Linked DNA regions of Homo sapiens: region 1 is linked to region 2. The links are contacts of gene promoters, found by promoter capture Hi-C in blood cells and fetal thymus (Javierre and others, 2016). All regions are on one chromosome and are shown on one strand. Each heading gives the region's core, a stretch centred on a gene start or on the middle of the fragment in contact. The rest is flanking DNA. Distances are from core to core; before and after follow the strand shown. Region 1 holds the start of FCRL2 (Fc receptor like 2). Region 2 holds the start of IFI16 (interferon gamma inducible protein 16).

Evidence for each region. The method cuts DNA at HindIII sites, captures the fragments that hold promoters and counts their contacts. A CHiCAGO score of 5 or more calls a contact.
Region 1: a contact is called between the fragment with the promoter of FCRL2 here and a fragment that was not itself captured in region 2, in 1 of 17 cell types (total B cells). The highest score is 6.6, in total B cells.

The regions. Positions count from the first base shown.
Region 1 is chr1:157,774,105-157,779,743 of GRCh38, reverse strand. FCRL2 (Fc receptor like 2) reads left to right here and starts at 2,612. Exons shown (of 12, transcript NM_030764.4): 1 at 2,612-2,701; 2 at 3,949-3,969. The coding sequence starts at 2,671. The HindIII fragment of the contact is 5,936 bases long and covers 1-4,441 here.
Region 2 is chr1:159,009,017-159,015,505 of GRCh38, reverse strand. It overlaps IFI16 (interferon gamma inducible protein 16), which reads right to left and starts at 5,599. Exons shown (of 12, transcript NM_001376587.1): 1 at 5,345-5,599; 2 at 561-845. The coding sequence starts at 825. LOC124904432 (a long non-coding RNA gene) reads left to right here and starts at 1,456. Exons shown (of 2, transcript XR_007066671.1): 1 at 1,456-1,939; 2 at 2,026-2,999. RefSeq lists enhancers at 1-489, 5,663-5,742 and a silencer at 2,781-2,890. The HindIII fragment of the contact is 5,786 bases long and covers 2,347-6,489 here.

The DNA.
Region 1 (5,639 bases), core at 1,363-3,862, 1.2 Mb after region 2:
ACAGAGTAGCACCCACATGAAACATGTTAGCCATCTTAGAGGATTTGTTGCCACCTCTGTGGCCCACACACCTCATTACTGCTGCTTTCCACCTGCACCTTTTATACCAACTGTGAATTTTACCTCATATCATTTGGTAACACCTTAAGAAATATTGATTCTTAACTGAAGAGGCCACATTTCCATAGAGGGTATATAGAAATCAGTGAAGGGATATGGATTATTTTGAAAAATCTCCTTGATGTCTATGAAAAACTTGTACCTACCATCAATTTACCATCAACTTTTTCATGATCCTATTTGTACTCCTTTCCTTAATTCCCTCCCATCCACAAAATTTCTATAGCTTCCAGGTTGGTCAGAATGGGAAGGAATTATAGGCCACCTAGAAACCCATTCAGTAGGCAAGATTTGATGATCAGTGACTAGCTTTGGTCCTGGGAAAGAGTAACTTACACTTTCAAACACATACAAACCGTTTGCCTATGCAGAAAGTTAAAGTAGTATTGTTTTCAACACTTTAAGATGAGAGAGGCCATAAAACCTAGTTTCTTATAATGAATCTTTAAAAAGTACGTAAATAGCATATGTTTATTGTAAGAATACTAGAATACACAGATAAGCAAAATAAGGAAAATAAAAATCAGCTTTAATTAGATTTTTTGGATATAATTACAGTAACTCTGTGGTGCGAATTGTCTCAGACACTTTTTATTGGAGAGCAGGGGATAATGTGCAGCAGATAAAGTGCACTCTGCAGCCACTTTTTTCTTTTCTTTTCTTTTCTTTTTTTTTTTTGAGACGGAGTCTTGCTCTGTCACCCAAGCTGGAGTGCAGTGGCACGATCTCGGCTCACTGCAAGCTCTGCCTCCCGGGTTTGTACCATTCTCCTGCCTCAGCCTCCCAAACAGCTGGGACTACAGGCACCTGCCACCACGCCCGGCTAATTTTTTGTATTTTTAGTTGAGATGGGGTTTCACCGTGTTAGCCAGGATGGTCTTGATCTCCTGACCTCGTGATCCGCCCGCCTCAGCCTCCCAAAGTGCTGAGATTACAGGCGTGAGCCACCGCACCCAGCCCACTTTTTTCTTAATCATATATCCTAGACATCTTATCTTGCTATTAAATATTATTCCACAGAATTATTTTAATGGCTGTTTGGTTTTCCACAGCATTTGACACATAACTTATTTTTAACACACATCTCTCCTTGTGATATATTTTTAGTATTTTCTTTTTACATTATTATAAGCAAGGCTTTAATGACCATCACATATAAATATTAGCCTTTCTCAAAGTAAAACTATGATAATAGTGAGAATAAAATGTTAAGTATCCAATTGTTAAAAATTCAATGTTAAGTATTCAGGTAAATGTTAAGTACCTGAACAGGTAACATTGAGTCTATGAATATTTTCAGTCAGTCCCTCATTTATAAGCACCTGTGATTTTTTGGTTTAGAGTTTCATCCTGCATAAGGTTCACTGATGAGACAACATCTACTGGGACTACATCTAATCAAAGTGAGCATGATAATAGGTGTTCACATAACACGCGCTTTGCTTTGTGTGAGATAACTGTATTAGGATCAGCCTGGGGTACAAAAAGCAATGCAGATTAGAAATAGGCAATGTTGTGATTACAGATTAGAAAGATGGCAATGTTTTCAGCAATATAGTGCAAGTGTTTTGAAGTTTAGTAAAATCTCATTCTAGAAAGTCATCGAATGACTACGAAAAATTTTACTTAAGAAATATGAGCTATTGAAACAATGGCCTTATTATTTTATGAACCTTGAGAAGCAATATATCAAGATAATAGGGCACAATGTTTAAGAGCCAGACTGTGACACTGGGCTGCCTGGGTTTGAATCCCAGATCTGTTACTACTAGAAATTGATTAAGCTGATCTTGGTCATTTTACTGGCTGCTATCATCTGAATGTTTGTGTCCTGGCAAAATTCTTATGTTGATACTTAATCCTCAATGCAATAGTAATAAAAGGTACCCACCTTTTATTACATGACCTTTTAGGGGTCATGAGTGTGGAACTCTTATGAAAAGGATTAGTCTCCTTGTAAAAGAGGCTTGAGGGAGCTTGTTTGCTCCTTCCATCATGTGAAGACACATAGAGGACACCATCTATGAGAAACAGGCCCTCATCAGACACTGAATCTACTGGTGCCTTGATCTTAAACTTCCCAGCCTCTTGAACTATGAGTGATAAATTTATGTTGTTTATAAATTTCTCAGTCTAAGGTATTCTTTATAGCAGCCCCAATGGACTAAGACACTTACCTTTACTAGTGCCTCAATTTCCTTATTCATGTGAAAGGGGATAGTGCCAATTCAGAAACTTGCTGAAGGTAATAAATAACTCTGTAAGCATGAGGCACTTAGAACTGTGTCTGACTCATTGCAACCCATATGTAAATGCTAGGTATCATAATGAGGGTCAAGTTACAAAATTTCTCTGGCATTGAGAGGATCAGCTATAATTGTTTTAGCCCTTCCAGGACAAAGATAATGGTTAAACATAGTGGCACTATTCTACTTCCTTTTTTGCTAATTATACAAAACCTATTCTGAAAACCACATTTCATCGCCTGCTCAGAGTCTCCAGTTGGTGACCAAGAGTACATCTCTTTTCAAATAGCTGGATTAGGTCCTCATGCTGCTGTGGTCATTGCTGGTCATCTTTGGTGAGTTCAATAATTTGACTGAGAAGTGAGGTGGCAGCTGAATGAGGTCTACTGCTCCCAAAAGGTTGGAGGTTTTATTGGAGCCCAGGGACTGGTGGGGATGCTCAGGTCCTGCCTGCAGCTTGGGCTTCAAAGGCAGATGCAAAGAAGTAGGCTGAGGACAGTGAATTTGCAGCACATCCATTAAGCATTAAGCACAATGCTTAATGTTCAAGGTGGACCACTTTTCCATTTGCTGGTCATGAATTGCTATTTTGATATCTTAGATCTCATTGAGTAATATAATGTTCTCATAGTAAAATGTTCATAATATTAGCATTTAGCAATGCCCTTCTCCTCCATGAACACCGATTATTCAATTGTTATCTATAAGATTTGGGTTCAGCAGATGCATTGAGACCCTTTGCTAATATTCCTCTGTTTAATCGTGGACAATGAGGGAGATGACAGCTGCTGCTAGAAAATAAGATTCCTGGGTGAGTGCAGTGGCTCATACCTGTAATCCTAGCACTTTGGGAGTCCAAGGCTGGTGGATCACTTGAGGTCAGAGTTCGAGACCACCCCGGCCAACATGGTGAAACCTCATCTCTACTAAAAATACAAAAATTAGCCAGGCGTGGTGGTGGGCACCTGTAATTCCAGCTACTCGGGAAGCTGAGGCAGGAGAATTGCTTGAACCCGGGAGGTGGAGGTTGTGGTGAGCCAAGATCGCACCATTGTACTCCAGCCTGGGTGAGAGAGTAAATAAGATCCCTTTCTCTATGCTGTGTAGGCACTAAATAAATATTTGTTATTGGAATACAAAGGGCTCTAACGTGAAATATGGCCATAGGAAAGAGACTGATTTGTTGATTTCTTGGAACTCTCACAATGTATGTTTCCTGATGAGCCCTTTGTGATCGTGTTGTCATGTCTATCTACCACTTGAAAAGTCAGAGTGTGAGATAGAGTGGTGGGGATGGTGGAAGGAAAATGAAATCAAGGAGAGTCACTAAATATCCAACATGGGTATTCTCGACAATCCCTTTAGTCAAGCATTGGGTTTGCAACTTGCCTTTTGACTACAATGAATGACAGTTAGATGTGTGCTCGAGGGAGATTGAATTGTTAGTAATAAGAGATTAGGGAAATAGAAAAGAAAGGGAAAATGGAAAGAAGTTTTTGAGCAATTTACCAGAGTAATATAAATTTATAAATTATGAGGGCAAATGCTGTGTGCTAATCTCTGGCTTTTGATCTCCTCACAGATGCAGTCACTGAACAGGCAGGTGAGTCCTCCTTGTCTTTGTTGTTCTTGGTCTCTGGCATATCAGTCACCCCACTACCCCAGGATTCTATAGAGGTGGCTCTGGAAAGCCTGTGAAGATGTCCTAATATTACTGCCCTCTAGGCTGACATGTTCTGAGGTCACGCAGCCTGTTTCCAACACCACTTGCATGTCTGGGTGACCAGGTACCACCTAGCCTTCTCAAGACCCCACATGCTTGCCTCTTCCTTAAAAGCCTGGCTTTAAGAAGGGCAATAACATGCAGATTGAAGAAAAGAACAATTTGGAGAGAATTGTTTTCCTGCCCATAGGACTGTAATGCCTCTTTATTGTCTGGCTGAATGCTGAATGTTTTTACAGCTCTGAAAACAGCTATTTATAGAGGAATGTGTCAGAACTACAAACTTCTGCAGGGTCAGAATAAACATGTGTCCTCATTGCTTCTCTAGCTCTAGCTCAGGAATCAGCAAGCTTTTCCTGTAAAAGGCAAGAGAGTAAATAGGCTAAGCTTTTCAGGTGTGTGCCGTAACTACTCAATGCCATTGCTGTGGTAGCAGGAAAACAACCATAGACCATATGTAAACGAATGAGGATGGCTGTGTTCCAATAACATTTTATTTACCAAAACAGTGTTGGCCAGCTCACAGGCCATAATTTGCCAACCCGTGCTCTAGATTTAGTATTTAGTTTTGATTTTTTAAAAATGCATGTATTACTGTTCTAATCATAAAGAGTGAAATAAAGCTAATTTTATTTCACTCTTTCTGAGTTAAATCTGTGCTCAGTGAAGGAAGTCAATGGGAAAAATATTTTATTCTATATACAGAATCTTCACATGAGCCAAGACAAAATCTAAAGAAAGGGAGACTTGTTCCCTTGCCCATTGAATGCTGGCTACCAAGTGGAAGGGGCTCTTTGGGCTCTAAGGAACAGTGTGGGAAAAGCAGATCCTGCTGTCACCTTGAATGGAACAAGAGTGTCCAGGGAGACATTCAGGGGTCCTACCTGGAACTTGCTCAGGAGCAAGTCTGGTCTCTTGCATTCATTCTGTCCCACATAAGGTCCAGGAGTCCCACCCTGTGATACCCATCACTCCACTGTCTGTCTGGATGGAAATTAGAGGAAACCTCGATCAATATTCAGGAGGTTTCTGACCATTAGTGGAATCATGCCAAGACAGCAGGCTCCCTGAAGTGAATCACCTACGACCATTCAGAGAACAGGGCAACAGCCACTTCATTCTCTTTCTTTTCCTTTAGCAAGAGTTTCTCAGAAAACTGAGATGTTCTTCAGAAGTTTGAGATCTTTTCTTTTTAAAAAGAGTAAGAGAGAACTTAGTTCAGCATGATGTACTGGAAAGAGCAGGACTTATATAGCCAGAAAGACCAAATTGAAATCATGGCTTTGCTATATACCTGCTATGTAGGCTGGGCAGTCACTTGGCCTCTGAACCCCAGTCTTGGCTCTGGGGAAAAGTTTCTGGCCTGTTGAGAATTACAATCCCCTGCAAGGTTTGAAAATGCTATTCAGCAGAGCAGCTGAAAAGGTCTTTCTGTCCCCATCCATTGCCTCAATGCAGTCTTCCACCCCATTTCCTCTTTTCAGCCCCACCCATACACTGCACTCACCACCTGGGACTTTGCCCTTGCAAAGCTTTGAATACCATTTGCT
Region 2 (6,489 bases), core at 3,990-6,489:
CCAGGTAAAGATATTCAAATTATAGAAACCAGCCAAAGGTTTCCATGAGGAAGGATATACTGATTTTGGACTTAGACTTTTTCAAATCCTTTTTTTTAACTTGATATAACAAGAGAGGAGATCACACTTCTGAGAGGCAGGCTCACATGTAAGTATTGCATTTTTTTAAATTATAAAGGGTAGTGATGGGTTAAATGGTCTCAATAGAACAGATACATTCATTGGCTAAATGTACATATCTTGAATTTAAACAGTTTTTATGATTTTATTATTATATAATCTTTCTAATGTACTGGAAGTCTCAGTCCCCCTTCAACTCCCTCTCACTTTTGTTCTTTCACTGATCCCAAATATACATTCTGAAATACTTCAATCTACACCAGTAATGGAATGCACTAAGTTGTCAACTTGTTGGCCTCTGAAGTACCAACATTGTCTCAGCTGTTGAGTCACAAACTGGGGAAAACACATCTCAAGTATGTCCGAGGTGGGGCTCTAATCAATGTTGGGGAGGGTTTGGGGATGGTTGCAGGGAGTGGGTGTTCCCTCTTCCCAATTACCTTTTAACTTTTCTTTTTTAAGAGTTTCAGCCAGGTCTTCAAGCGTTGGTATATCTTCGAAAATTTTTATTAGTTTGCCCAAACCAGCATCACCTCGGAACTTTTCTTCCATCAAGTCAGCAATCTGAATTTTGTCATACTCTTCTCTCATTTTTAAATTAAGTTTTAAATCGTTGCTCAGTAAGGACTTAACCATTCTAAAATGATAATCATTGATGACCTCTAATCCTTTTAGTAGAACAATGTTCTTGTATTTTTTTCCCATCTTTACAGACATAAGTGAGCCTACAAGAGAAAATGGTATATACAGTGTTACACATGTATACAGACAATTTAAAAGATGTATGCCTATGTGAGTGAGTGGCCCATATGAAAGAGTTGTTCATGAATATGTGTGATAAAGAAGGACTCAACGACCAAATGTGTTACTGTAGAAATTGAGTGAAGAACTGCTGGGTTAGGAATGTCTAAGAAATTATTCCCATTGAATGAGAATAGTTGAGTTGGGTCCAGTTGTTAGAGGGAGGTCTGAGAACAAGCAATTGCCTCAGTGTTAAGAGTATGAGCTCTGCAGTGTCAAAGCCCTTGGTTCCTCTTCTTATCCTTTACTGGGGCTGAAGCCTATTCCCCAAATCCTGCCTGTTGTTTCTTAAATCTTCCCACACCCAGTATGACTGGAGCGGCCTAGGTGTAAATGGGCTGCAGCCTCCCACCTTATATGAATAACTTTCTGCTACAGCGCTACAGTTTCATGCTGTGGCACTGACCCTATTCTCCTTGACTCTTCCCTAGTTGGCTTTCATTAGCATCCTCCCTTCTTTGGTGCTAGACCATGGCTTCTGTTCTCTGTACCCATAAAACCATAACTTTGCTGAAAATCTGCATGCTTTCTAGTGCAGCATCACAGTATTTATTCACTGAAATGATTTTATTGGTTGTTTTATTTTTCTTCTTTCAGACTTGATTTGTCTAATTATTTCTTTTCGCACAATCAGTTTTCTCTCGATAAGCCACATTTATATTCCACTGAAATCCTTCAATATTTCTCCTTTTTCTTCCCCAAAATTCCTTGCTTCCTATACTGTCTCAGAAAGTGTTGAATAAGCTGCATCTTTTTTACTTCTAGTACCTTTGTACTCCTTGTATCTATGCTTCACAAAGATGCCGGACACCTTGTGTCTTCATGCCTCATGACTTTGCTAGTTCCTTCTTACTGCCTGGAAAGCCATTCCCACATTTCTTTCTTTGACTACTTCCCATACAACCTTAAGACTCAACTGAGGCTTTGTCTCATGGTAGATTTCAGAGTCTCCCTATGGACAGAGTGTCACTGCTCTTGACCTCTTAACACCTGTACACTTCCATGATGACAGTGCAAGGTATGGATTCCAAAACTTTTAAATTAATGAATTTTTTAATTTTAGGAATGATGTCTTTGTGTATAACCAAGATATCTAAATTTCAGGGGCTATTAATTGGGCCAGGCGCAGTGGCTCACGCCTGTAATTCCAGCATGTTGGGAGGCCGAGGTGGTCGAATCACAAGTTCCGGAGATCAAAAGCATCCTGGCTAACACAGTGAGACCTCGTTTCCACTAAAAATACCAAAAATTAGCCAGGTGTGGTGGCAAGCGCTTGCAGTCCCAGCTACTCGGGAGGCTGAGGCAGGAGAATTGCTTGAACCCAGGAGACGGAGGTTGCAGTGAGCGGAGATCGTGCCACTACACTCCAGCCTGGGTGACAGAGTGAGACTCCGTCAAAAAAAAAAAAAAAAAAAAAAAAAAGCTTCCTTCTTACGAGAACATGAGGATCCTTGGACTGAAAAGGTCCAGAGAATGAAGGGAAAATCTATACAAAAACACATTATAGTGAAACTGAAGAATATAATGAACAAAAATACTCTGTAAGCCTTCGGTAATGAGGAATAGATCACCTACAAAGATTCAAGAATCAAATTGAAAGTGAATCTCTATATCAAAACTGCCTGAAGCAGGACAATGGAGTTATTTTTATATAATGTTGGTCCAAAGTTCCATATCAATTGCAAAACCAAAAAAAATTTTCAATGGAAAGTTTTGACTTATTTTGTGAGTGTGCTAGAAACAATAAGTTCGTCTTCAAACTTTCCTGTTCTTTCCTGTTCTGTAAACAACCCTTCCTTCCTTTGCCGCCCCAGACATGCCTTCCCGCCTAATTGGTACAGGACAGTGTCTTCCTTCCCGCCTAATTACCCCTATAGAATTTAAAGCAGTAGCCAATCCGGTCAGCTTAGAATGTGCATTGTGACTGACGCAGGCAGCACCCTTCTGTAGAAGCAAATATGCTTTGCTGAGAAATTTCCTGTTTAAGTGCTGGTTTTTCTTTGTGGCACTGAGCACTTGTTTCCAACAAGTGTGACAGCACAATTTATTTGCAAAATAAAACCAGATTTGGGATGACAGTAGGCTATGTATAATCTTTATTTCACTGAAATGTGAACACTCACATGTTTTGTTTTGCAATATTAGTGCTTTTGATTTTGGAGTAATTATTTATATCCCAATGGAGTTTCTAGTAAGACACTATTTAGAATATATACACTAAATAGCCTTTCTGAAGCCTCCAGATTCTTAACTTCAAAATGTATCTAGCTCCACAGCACAGAAGAGGTGCTTTCATCTTGTCTTAAGGGAAAATATAATTTTACATTTTAGAGTTTTAATTTAGGCAAAATGATATTTAAATAGAAGAGTCTCAAAAACTATTTTGTGATACTCAGGGCCTCAGTCTTTTTGCAAGACAAAGACTCATACCACAAGAAAACATCTATTGAAAATAATATTTAATAGGAAAACATGAATAAAATTAAAAATTCTGCCAGCCAAAAGATAAGAAGAGTGAAAAATAAACTTTTTTAGGTGTTCCTAATGTCTTACAAAGAAAACCCTGATCAAATATAAGAGAAACAGAAATTACAACAGCATGGTAAAGGGAGGGAAGAAAAAGAACATGACAATTCACTAAAGCAATTGTCTTAGATAGTGAGATGATATAGAAGTGTCATAAATTGAAGTAAAGACAGCAGATTGTTAATTACCAGCATATACCTAAAAGGTCTGACCTGTTAAGTGACAACTTTCATCAAATTTGATTTAAGAAATCTACATATATATTGTTAACAAAAGGTGAAAAAAATTGTTAAAAATTATCTTGCAAGGAATAACTAAAGAAAGCCAGTTTATCTATGTTTGTGTAATTTTAAATATACCTTAAGCCCAAAAGTAACTTCAGATACCACATGATAAAAGTTTCAACTCCTAGAAAATTATGTTTTAGTTATGAATTTATCTAATTTATCTAATGATATTATTTATTATTTTATAGTGCTTCATGGTACTATAATTAGTATATATTTCTCTTCATATACACACATGTACAGACATCACTACACACATATATGTGTGTACCTGTTTGTATACATGATTATATATACATATATTTGTGTGTGAATGTATATTATATATACACATAACATGTATGTGATTGTGAGAGCACTACAAAGAAAAAAAATTTTTTTTTTTTTTTGAGACAGAGCCTTGCTCTGTCACCCAGGCTGGAGTGTAGTGGCACAGTCTCGGCTCACTGCAACCTCTGCCTCCTGGTTCAAGCGATTCTCCTGCCTCAGTCTCCTGAGTAGCTGGGATTACAGGCACACATGACCATACCCGGCTAATTATTGTATTTTTAATAGAGACAGGGTTTCGCCATGCTGGCCAGGCTGGTCTGGAACTCCTGACGTCAAGTGATCCGCTCGCCTTGGTCTCCCCCAAAGTACTGGGATTACAGGCATGAACCTCTGTGCCCGGCCAAAAAAGCAAACTTTATAATAGGAGATTTCAGTTTATGCTTCAATTACTAAATGAACAAGGTGAAAAAATCTGTAATGATATAATAAATTTGAACAACGTAATTAACAACATTTATCTAATAAAATTCTGAAAACAACATTTAAGAATCTCACATTCCATTTAAGCACACATGAAATATTGTACCAGGCTATAGAAAACATCTTTTAAAAATTTGAAAAGTAAACAATAGTAACCTTTTCCTAACTGCCTTCCCCTCCACTCCCCTATACCTTGCCACAAGGAAAAAAAAAATCATTAACTTTCAGGAGGGCAGAGAGTAATTCCAAAATGATTGAAATTCTGCCGCTAGCACCCGGTGCAGAATGGAGCTAAAGTAAAGGATCAATATACTTATGAAAATATTAAGACACCATGTGCTTGAGTAACTGTGTTTGTGAAACTGAAAAAAATTTTCTACTCTGTGTACATTTGTTCTTATGTTTTGTAAAATTGGGATGATGTCATATAATACATCTCTATGCTCAGATATGTTTTTTACTTAATATTCTTTCATGATACTTTTTTCATGTCACTATCTTGAGAACCCACCACAGCTACCGAGTTTCCAACACTTCTTCCAGCCAAAATAACAGAAGCCCTCTTCTAAGTACCAACTTATGCCAGTATACACTCGGATAATTAATTTTAAAATCTGCAACGGTCAAAATGCATTTTCTCTTGTTCAGTCCTCAGTTGTGGTGGAATAGAAGATGCCTGTTATCTTCCTAAGTAAATGAAGGATTCATATCAAGCAACTCAGTTTTCACTTTTCTGAATACTCAGCCCTACTCCCATCATCCCATGACCCTGAATAACCAATACTGATTGTCCCCTTGTGATTCTGGGGACTTCAAGGAAGGAACAAGATCATATTTACAAAATCAGGAACAGTACTCACCTCACTGGAAATTTTTTCAACAGTAGTCCAGATCTTGAGATCTTCAGAAATGCAGGAATCAATGCTTATTTGTGTGAGGGGGGAGATAAATCAGTAAAGTTCCCAGAAACGGAACCGCAGGATGTTGTAATCTCCAGAAACGCTAAGAAAATGAAGTATCTGCAAAGATAACAAGGAAAAAAGGCCTTGGTTGAGTCACTTAGTTAGCTGACTAGTGCTGGCTTGCTCCTATTCTGCTATTGCCCCAGAGAAAATGGAGTAGGAAACAATGTGGAGACTCCTCCCACCAGTGTTTTTAGCTTTCGTTTCTGTTAGTCAGAGAAAATGAACAGTTTCCTGGCAAGGGCTGGAGCATGTGGTGAGGGGAAATGGGGGATGAGAAATTACTTTAATGGGTACAGTTAACATTTTTCGGGTGATGTGCACACTGAAATCTCTGACTTCACCAATATGGCATATATCCATGTAACGAAATTACACTTGTATCTCATAAATGTATATAAACACAAATAAGTTTTTTTTCTTACAAAATTCGATAGCTGAAAGGAGTTCCAACATTAGAACTTTCTTACCCAGCAGACTTACATGTGAGTCATTAGAGACTTATATTCCCTTAAATGATGCTCAAATATAAGAGAAGCAACATGGCTTCTTCTCCCCTCCTTTCCTGTGCACAGAGTGGCAGTGGCAGGAGGAGATCTTGGTAGGAGCATCTATTGCTACCAATACTTTACTGCATCTCCTGGTTGGGGAAATGTCTGCTATGAAATCGCTATTTGTTTAAATACTACCTGAAGTATTCATCCAATTATTAATAACTGACAAGCCTGGGCTTTCCAGATCAGAAAGTCATTATGAATATGTAAATCCTTCCTTAAATTTATATGAAGGAGTTTAACACTAGCTGTCCTCTTGACCATGACTAGGTTACTTTACCTCAATGATTAGATTCACGAATGCTCAGATTTTCTGCATTATTCCTGGATAAACAAACGTGGATAGTGGACTCTCAACATGACAGCATCGAAGACTTGAAAATCCTGGAAAATGCACTGAACTTCCGGTAGTGTGAGGAGTCTGTTTAATCCTCTGCTCAGCAGTGTATTTTTCTCTGTTAAGGACAGTGGGTGCCCTTTAGCGTGCTG